3 separate regions of the Homo sapiens genome follow, and regions 1 and 2 are each linked to region 3. The links are contacts of gene promoters, found by promoter capture Hi-C in human tissues and cell types (Jung and others, 2019). All regions are on one chromosome and are shown on one strand. Each heading gives the region's core, a stretch centred on a gene start or on the middle of the fragment in contact. The rest is flanking DNA. Distances are from core to core; before and after follow the strand shown.

Region 1 (2,917 bases), core at 150-2,649, 42 kb before region 3:
TGAAAAACCACTCACCTTCCTGCAGCTCCTTGGCCTGGCCACTGAAGACTGATGGAGCCCAGGGCCCCTGGCCCCATCTGCCATCACTGCATCAGAGCCAAGGGTAACTCTGCTAGTAGCAGGTAACTCTGCTAGTAGCAGGTAAAAGCCAGTCTCCTTTTTAATCGATACTGGGGTCACCTACTTGGCTTTGCCTGAATTTTCAGGACCCACTCATCCCTCCCAGGTCTCTGTCGTGGGGGTTGATGGATTCATCTCACATCCACACACCACTGAGTCCCTTACTTGTTTCTAGTTTAATACTGTTTTTACACACTCCTTCCTTACCATGCCTGGTTGTCCCACCCCCATTCTAGGCCAAGACCTTTTAACTAAATTCAAAGCTTCCATCACTTTTTCCTGCCTCTCTCAACCAGAGTCCCTTCTGCTCCTCTCCACTAGTCCAGCCCCTGACCCTTCTCCCTAGTACCTGCTTCCCTCCTCCCTCGTTAACCCAGTGGTGTAGGATACCACCACCCCTTCCGAAGCTGCACACCATAACCCCATCAAAATCCTGTTAAAGGATCCCTTCAAATTTCCTAACATTCCCCAATACCCCGTCTCCCTAACCCACCAAAAGGGCCTCCAACCTGTTATAAACAAGCTCTACTCATGTGGTCTTCTTAGACCAACACATTCTCCATATAACACCCCCATCCTTCCCGTTAGAAAATCTGACGGCTCATACCGACTCGTTCAGGACCTCTGAGCCATCATTCAGGCTGTCCTCCCTATTTACCCTGTGGTCCCTAACCCCTATACACTTCTCACCCTCATCCCCTCCAACACCACCCACTATACAGCAATCGACCTAAAGGATGCTTTCTTACACCATTCCCTTACACCATTCCCTTACACTCTGATTCCCAAGACCTCTTCGCCTTCACCTGGACTGATTCTGACACTTTTCAGTCACAACAACTCACATGGACTGTCCTCCCTCAAGGCTTCAGAGACAGCCCTCACTTCTTTGGACAAGCTCTAGCCCAAGACCTCACCTCCTTAAACTGTTCCCCCAGCCACCTTCTCTAATACATTGACGATCTCCTTCTTTGCAGCCCCTCCCTAGAGGACTCTCAAACTCACACCATCACCCTTCTAAACTTTCTTGCTAGCAAAGAATATAGGGTCTCCCCCTCCAAAGCCCAACTATCCGCCCCAACAGTAACATACTTAGGAGGCCAACTCTCCCCCTGGTGCCCAAGCCATGACGCCGGCCTGAGCAACCTTAATAAACACCTTGCCTCCGTCTTCCTCAAAAAATGAAATTCTCTCTTTCTTAGGACTAGCAGGTTTCTTTAGAATATGGATTCCCAACTTTGCTCTCCTGGCTCGGCCCCTCTACGAAGCAGCCAAAGGCCCCCTCAGTGAACCCCTAAGCCCCTCACACAACATACTTCCCGGTTTCTGTAAACTCCAAACTGCTCTCGTCACTGCACCTGCCCTGTCCTTACCTGACATCTTCCAACCCTTCGTTTTTTATACCACCGAAAACCAAGGAATAGCTCTCAGGGTCTTAGGGCAACAAAAGGGAAATCCTCCTTCCTTTGCCCCTGTGGCATACCTCTCTAAACAATTAAACAACACTGTCAGAGCGTGGCCAACCTGTCTTAGAGCATTAGCAGCAGCGGCCGTTTTGGCTCTGGAAAGTAACATTTGGCCAAAGCACCACCGTCCACAGCCCTCACAACTTACAGGATCTCCTCTCCTCTCAGGCGTTAAGCTCCCTCTCTCCTTCCCGAATTCAGTTACTGCATGCCCTCTTTATCGAAAATCCCAAATTCAGCCTTGCCAAAAGCACCCCCCTCAACCCAGCATCCCTACTCCCCATATCCTCTTCCCCTCCTACTCATTCTTGCACTGACATTCTGGATCACCTGCAGCCACACTTCCCTAACATCTCCTTCGAGCCTCTCACTAACCCAGATGGCCACTATTCATAGATGGCTCCTCTTCTGGAGCCCCCGGCTCTCCCAAAATTGCTGGGTACGTAGTAGTTACCTTAAACCATGTAATTGAGGCTAAACCCTACCCCCAGGAACCTCCTCCCAGAATGCAGAACTCATAGCTCTCACCAGAGCCCTAACCCTCTCCAAAGACAAACGGGTCAACACATACACAGACTCCAAGTATGCCTATCACATTCTTCATTCCCATGCTACCATCTGGCAAGAGAGGATTCCTTATCACCAAAAGAACCCCCATTACTAATGGCCCCCTTACTTAACAACTCTTTCAGGCCACACACCTCCCAACTGAAGCAGGAGTCATACGCTGTTGAGAACATCAAACAGGATCAGATAAAATCTCAAGAGGAAATAAAAAGGCCGATGAGGCAGGAAAACGGCCTCCCTTTCTCCTCTCCTTGCCCCCATCGTCCTTGTCACCCCAGCAGTCCCACCCAGATACCCTCCCACCAAAAAGGCTTTGCTACTACAGCAAGGAACCTCCCTTCAAGGGGACTGGATAATAAAAGATCAAAAGCTCATTCTTCCCCAAGAGCAAACCAAGGAAATTCTAACACCTCTTCACCAATCCTTCCATATTGATGCACGCCGGCAGTACCTACTCCTTCGCCCTTGTTTCTCGTCCCCCAATCTATTCGCCTCACTAAAGGACATAACCTCAAACTGTCGTATATGCTCGTTACTTCCTCCCAAGGGGCTCTTTGCCCTCTCCTCATCCCTACACGCCAGCTCAGAGGAACACTCCCAGGGAGCACTGGCAAGTAAACTTCACCCACATGCCTCCCATCAAAAAAAACTAAATATCTTCTTACCCCCGTAGACACTTTTTCAGGTTAGGTAGAAGCATTTCCTACCCCTTCAAAAAAAGCTGCAGAAGTCTCTCAAATTCTCATATCAGAAATCTTCCCTAG
Region 2 (2,700 bases), core at 121-2,620, 55 kb after region 3:
AGCTCACGCCTGTAATCCCAGCACTTTGGGATGCCGAGGCAGGCAGATCACGTGAGGTCGGGAATTTGAGACCAGCCTGACAAACGTGGAGAAACCCCATTTCTATTAAAAATACAAAATTAGCTGGGTGTGGTGGCACATGCCTGTAATCCCAGGTACTTGGGGGGCTGAGGCGGGAGAATCACTTGAATCTGGGAGGCGGAGGTTGCAGTGAGCCGAGATTACACCATTGCATTCCAGCCTGGGCAACAAGAGCAAAACTCTGTCTCAAAAAACAAAACAGAACAAAACAAAACAGAACAAACAAAACAAAACAAAACAAAACAGGAGTACCCTAGGAGCTGATATGGTTCTCATTTCAATGAGTTATAAAAAATGTAAAAATTTACAAGAAAGTGATGTAATTTACAGGAGGCCACACAGTTCAAAGTAGTTCTGTCTCTTTCTGCAACCTGTGCTCCTCCCAGCATGCTTTGCGTCTATTATCATGTATGTTGTGTATTTTAGCACTGAACTACATTTTTTTTCTTGTGTAGCCTGCCTGCTGCTTTATATTTGTGCTCCTGGATTCTAGCTATAGTATAAGTTCCCTTGAAGATAAAGAATGGAACCCAGGTTTCTTCCATATCACCGTCAACACGTGGCAGAGAGCTGAACTTGCGATGGAATCTCTTTAATTCTTGACAATCAACATTGATTAGAAGTCACATCTGTCTAGAAAATAACCCCAAGAAAACTACAGAAATCACCTCAAAAATAAATGAAAAAAGCTGTTGTTTTCCTGCCTCCATACCATGCTCCCACTTGACACTGATGGAGGAAGTCACCGATTTTCAGTTAAAAATGCGATAGGAGTGAAAATGCAGTTAGAAGCTACAGGTAGGCTTTGGGTTTCTGTTCTGAGCCATCGCTGCTGGCGAATACATGTGTGAAATGCTAGTTACCATAGCAACCAGTGCTGCAAGATTTTTTTTTTCACTTTGGTTTATGAATCCAAATCAATAAATGTTTATAAATAACTCTCCAATTGGCTAAAAGAAGTAGAAGCACAAGCCAGAACAATCCTTCTGTCCTGTGAATGTGAGTCATACATATGTTGGCCACATTCTGGGGACAGAAAAAGGCTATCAATGGAATAAACAATTGGCCACATCATTTTCTTTGCAAGAGCAATTAGGAAAAACCCTGCTGAGTGAAAATCTATTTCACATGCTTACTGACAACAAAGAATACAAAGTATGCTCACCCAAGGGGCATCAAGAGAAGACTGCAGAAATCACTGACTTCAGTAATACAGATACTAGGTCTGAAAGAGAACATTGATGTAATTGCACCTAAGTGATGATACTGAAGTTCAAATGGAGTAGGTAGAGACATTATTCTGCATTTGTGGATTTACATGTTCTCTAGGATATGCAAGCAGAATTCATACAAACGTAGAATTTGCTCTGAAGAGTCCCAACAAAAATCAAATCAGGCCACCAACCAGGGTAAGGATTCTTTCTATAGCATTCCAAACAGATGGTCAAACAGCCTCTCTCAGGATATTTTTAGTGAAAGGGAAAGTCATTTTTCTCCAATCTCTATCTAGTAGCTGTTAGATTTATTTCCTGAGCCAAAATCTCCTCCCACTCTCATCCTTTAACTCGTATCCATTGGTCTTAGTTTGTTCTTTGGCACAACAAAGAACTAATCCATGTGGTTCCTCCTCTTGGTGACAGCCTTTCCAACCTTTGCAAGCAGCCACCAAGTGCTTCTTTAGTCTTCTCTTACTCTTGGTTTAGTTTTCACCTCTCCCCTCTCAGGATGCCCTTGACTTGTCAGCATTCTTCTCTAAATGTGGATGCCCCGAATAATCTGTACAAATCCCCAGATGTGAGTTAAGATTTCAGAGCACAGTGAAACAACTTCCTGTGCTTTTTCTATCTATGGATTTGGCTAAGTTTATGTTCAAATTTTCTTTTCTTTCCCCATGCCACACCCCTTTTTTTTTTATAGCCACACCACACCATTAGCACATAGTAAACTTCTGGTAGGCTAAAACACACAGGGCACCCCATCCCAGAATAGGAACAAATTATGTAAATATTTCTCCCAGGAAGAACCCAACTGGGACAGGGATTCCCTGGCAAGCCACTACCCTGACAAGCAAAAATGAACAGCTGTTCTGATCATTTTGGCAAACATTTTTGCTGGCTGACATAAAATGGAGAAGGAGTAATTGTCCACAAGCTGTGGTTTGAAGGGTCATAGAGAAGTGTACCACCCCAAAATGTGTCACTCATCCAAATGCCAAAATAGCTGGAATTTTACGATTTGGAAAGGTTAGCAAATCCTGGCTATTTTTTCCCCAAAAGGACATATTAAATCACTAACAATTTAGTGTGAATAGGATGACCACATTTCTTTCTTCCAGGCAAAGAAAACTTGGGACAGTAAGAAAACACTAACTTTCTGGATTTGAAGAGAAGGGAGAGGAGTTAAAATCAGGGGAAAACTTTTGAAAGAAGTAGTAGGATAGCCCAAAGCTTTACCTGTTTGCTCTGCTTCATTGTTAATGCTGTCTATGGCCAGGGCAAAAGTCACAAACTCAAATGGACACCAGTGAAAGAAATAGGAGGGTAGAAGAAAAACTACAGCGATGATATAATAAATGGACCCAGGACAATGGGGGAGTGCTGGGAGCATTGCAATCTGGAG
Region 3 (2,700 bases), core at 65-2,564:
TTTGGCTGGACCCTCCTCCTTGATCTCCCATTTTTAACAGGCGGGCGGGGGCGTGGGGGGGGGGGGCGGGTAGACGAAGGAAAAAAGAAAGAAACCCTCTAACCCTGCCTCCCCCCACCCCACCGCCGAAATCTTAAGGGTGTTAGTAGGGCCTAGCCGAGATTTGGAAGCCTAAATTCTTGGAACTCTAGATCCTCCTTCCCCCGAATCCCCCGCCCCCCAGGTCCCTACTCAGCCTCAGAGGCACCGTTTGCTTTAAAGAAAGTCCAGCCTTACATCCGCCCAACGCTCCCAACCTCGAAAACACTCCCCAACGACAATAGCTATTGTCCTACTCTGGGGCTCCCTGCTCTTCGGCAGCTGAATTTGCACGCTTAAATCTCTAGGAAGGAAGCTTAATATGCTCTGTTTCAGTTCGGCAAAGAGCCCTAGGATCATGATTTAAAAGAACCTACCTTTGCAGTTAAAAGGCGGGGGGATGACACAAGGGCAACAGCCCCAGACCTCGTGGGGTGTCCCCTCCCTGCCCCAGCCAAAACACCAGAACACACGCATTTTTACAAAGCAACAGCGCGCTTAACAACCGGCATCCAGCCCGGGAATGCAATTGTTCAGGGTTGCGGCCCCTCCCTCGCAACCCTCCGCACCCCAAATCCCGCCGTCATTACAGGTCTCTCCTTTCACCCCTGCTCTGCCCTGCCCGGCCCCCGACCTCGCACAGCGCTGGGTCTTCTCCGAACCCCGCGAGGCTGGCGCCGACCCTCTCCCCTAGCAAAGTTTCAGTTCACCCCGGAGCGAAGGGGCAGCGCCGCTCTACCCGCGGGGCTCCTCACGGGTCACGCCGAGCCCCTCACTCCAAGCTCCCGATCCCCGGGGTCAGCCGCCACTCCGTCCCTCCCCGTCACCCCCAGTCCGTGCAACTTACAAATCCATAGCCCCGGGACTTGCCCGTCTGCCGGTCGGTGATGACCACCGCCTCCTCGATCTCGCCGAAGACCTCGAAGTACTTGCGCAGGCTGGCGTCGGTGGTGTGGTAGGGCAGCCCCCCGACGAAGATCTTGGTGTACGTCGTGTCCTTCTGGGTCGTGTGCATCTTCGCACCCGCCCCGCGGCTCGGGCTCCGGCTGCGGCTGCGGCTCGGGCAGCGGCTGCGCCTCCTCCTCCGGCTCCGCGTCTCCCGCACCCTTTCGCGGCCGCCGGGGGCCAAGGGCGAGCCCGGGGGCGAGGGCGGCGGCGCGGCGGGGGCGAGCGGCCGGGGGCGGCCGAGAGCGCCGGGCGCGCGGCTTCCGAAGTCGCCAGCGGCCCTGGAGACTTGACTTCGCTCTCTCCTCCCGCCCCCCCTGCCGGTCACCGTACAAATTCTCCGGATCGTCTGGATTAGAATCGGGTTCTATAGAATGTGCAAGCGGTTTCCACTCACCCGGCGGGGAGGCCAAAAATGAAAAGAGAGGGTAGTTCTCAAGCGAAGAAGCGGGTGCTTTAGAGGTAGATTTTTCTTCCTTAGGAATCAGGTGCCTTGGGTGGGGTGTGGGGAGGGTCCGCGGGAAGAGCGTCCGAGCGCCGAAGCGGGCGGGGGGCGCGGCGGCGGGGCCAGGGGCGAGGAACTCCGCGCAGCTTCGGCTCTGGTCTGTCCCTCCCGCCGTGGGATCTGGAAGACGAGTGCCGAGGACAGCTCTCCACCTCTCTGCTCCCTTCCCCCGCGGGCCGGGGGTCGACGCCCGGCTGGGGAGGGGGGCGGGCCGGACGCCTGCGATTGGCCGCGGCAGCACCTGGGGCGCCGGGCGCCGCCGCCCCCCAGCTGTTGGGAACAGCTGCTTCTCTCCCCGCGCGGCGCGGCGCTGGGGCTCGGGGCTCCCGCTCTGTAGCCGGCGATGGGGTAGGGCTGGAGACGCCTGTAGGCGGCCTGGCTCTCGGCGTCGCCTGCTCTAACCAGTCAAAGTCTTAGGGACCCGGCGCAGCACCAGCCGGGACCCAGGGTGCGGGGACTGTGCCCAAGGAGGAAGCTGCGTTGCTTTCCAGAGGGGACGACGCGAGCTTTTTGGGTTAGGCCTCGGTGACAGGGCCGGCGACCTGGACTGGCGAACTGGGGTCCCCAGAGGCCTGGGGCGATTCGCTGAGAGGCCAATCCCCTCCCGGGCGCGGGGGGTCAAGGAGCTCGGCCGAACGAAACCCAAGCTGGACACCCTGGGGTCTGAAGAGTGAGAAGGAGGGCCCCAACTTTCTTTGGCCCCAAAAAGCCAGTGCGGGGAAGTATCAGAGAGGTAGAGCCAGAAGGAAAAGAAAGATCTAGCGCTTGGGTGTAGTTGGGAAAACCATTAGCTTTAATTGCTACCGCCCAGCCAAACCAAGTAACCGGAGATACCTATGTCCATCAGGCACCGCCTTCTATTTCAGAGGACCATAAGTTAGTATTTTAGCCCCCACAGTCACCAAATTTGTCTTTCCTCCCTAACTTAGTTATTCAGGAAGATTGGTACAGATGTCTTAGCATAAGTCGTTCTTTTTTTTTTTTTTTCCCTAAACAAAGAATTAATCTATTTCTTTCTCTTTGAATTACAAGAATGTTTAGTGGCTTGACCTCATCTGTTTTTATCTGGATGTAAATGTAAAAGGTATAATTTTTGAAATCAACTTATTGCATAACCAGTGGTTTCTACCAGCAGACCTGAAAGCATTTGTAGAACATAGGGCACCCCATAT

The links. The method cuts DNA at HindIII sites, captures the fragments that hold promoters and counts their contacts. A contact is called where the count stands out against the background at its distance.
Region 1: a contact is called between a fragment that was not itself captured here and the fragment with the promoter of RBM24 in region 3, in 1 of the 25 tissues and cell types used here (pancreas).
Region 2: a contact is called between a fragment that was not itself captured here and the fragment with the promoter of RBM24 in region 3, in 2 of the 25 tissues and cell types used here (dorsolateral prefrontal cortex and liver).

What each region holds. Positions count from the first base shown.
Region 1 is chr6:17,322,107-17,325,023 of GRCh38, reverse strand. No RefSeq gene overlaps it. Among named protein-coding and RNA genes, the nearest start is that of RBM24, 42 kb to the right of the region's middle. The HindIII fragment of the contact is 9,108 bases long and covers 1-2,917 here.
Region 2 is chr6:17,225,387-17,228,086 of GRCh38, reverse strand. No RefSeq gene overlaps it. Among named protein-coding and RNA genes, the nearest start is that of RBM24, 55 kb to the left of the region's middle. The HindIII fragment of the contact is 4,463 bases long and covers 1-2,700 here.
Region 3 is chr6:17,279,975-17,282,674 of GRCh38, reverse strand. It overlaps RBM24 (RNA binding motif protein 24), which reads right to left and starts at 1,314. Exons shown (of 4, transcript NM_001143942.2): 1 at 926-1,314. The coding sequence starts at 1,093. The HindIII fragment of the contact is 10,579 bases long and covers 1-2,700 here.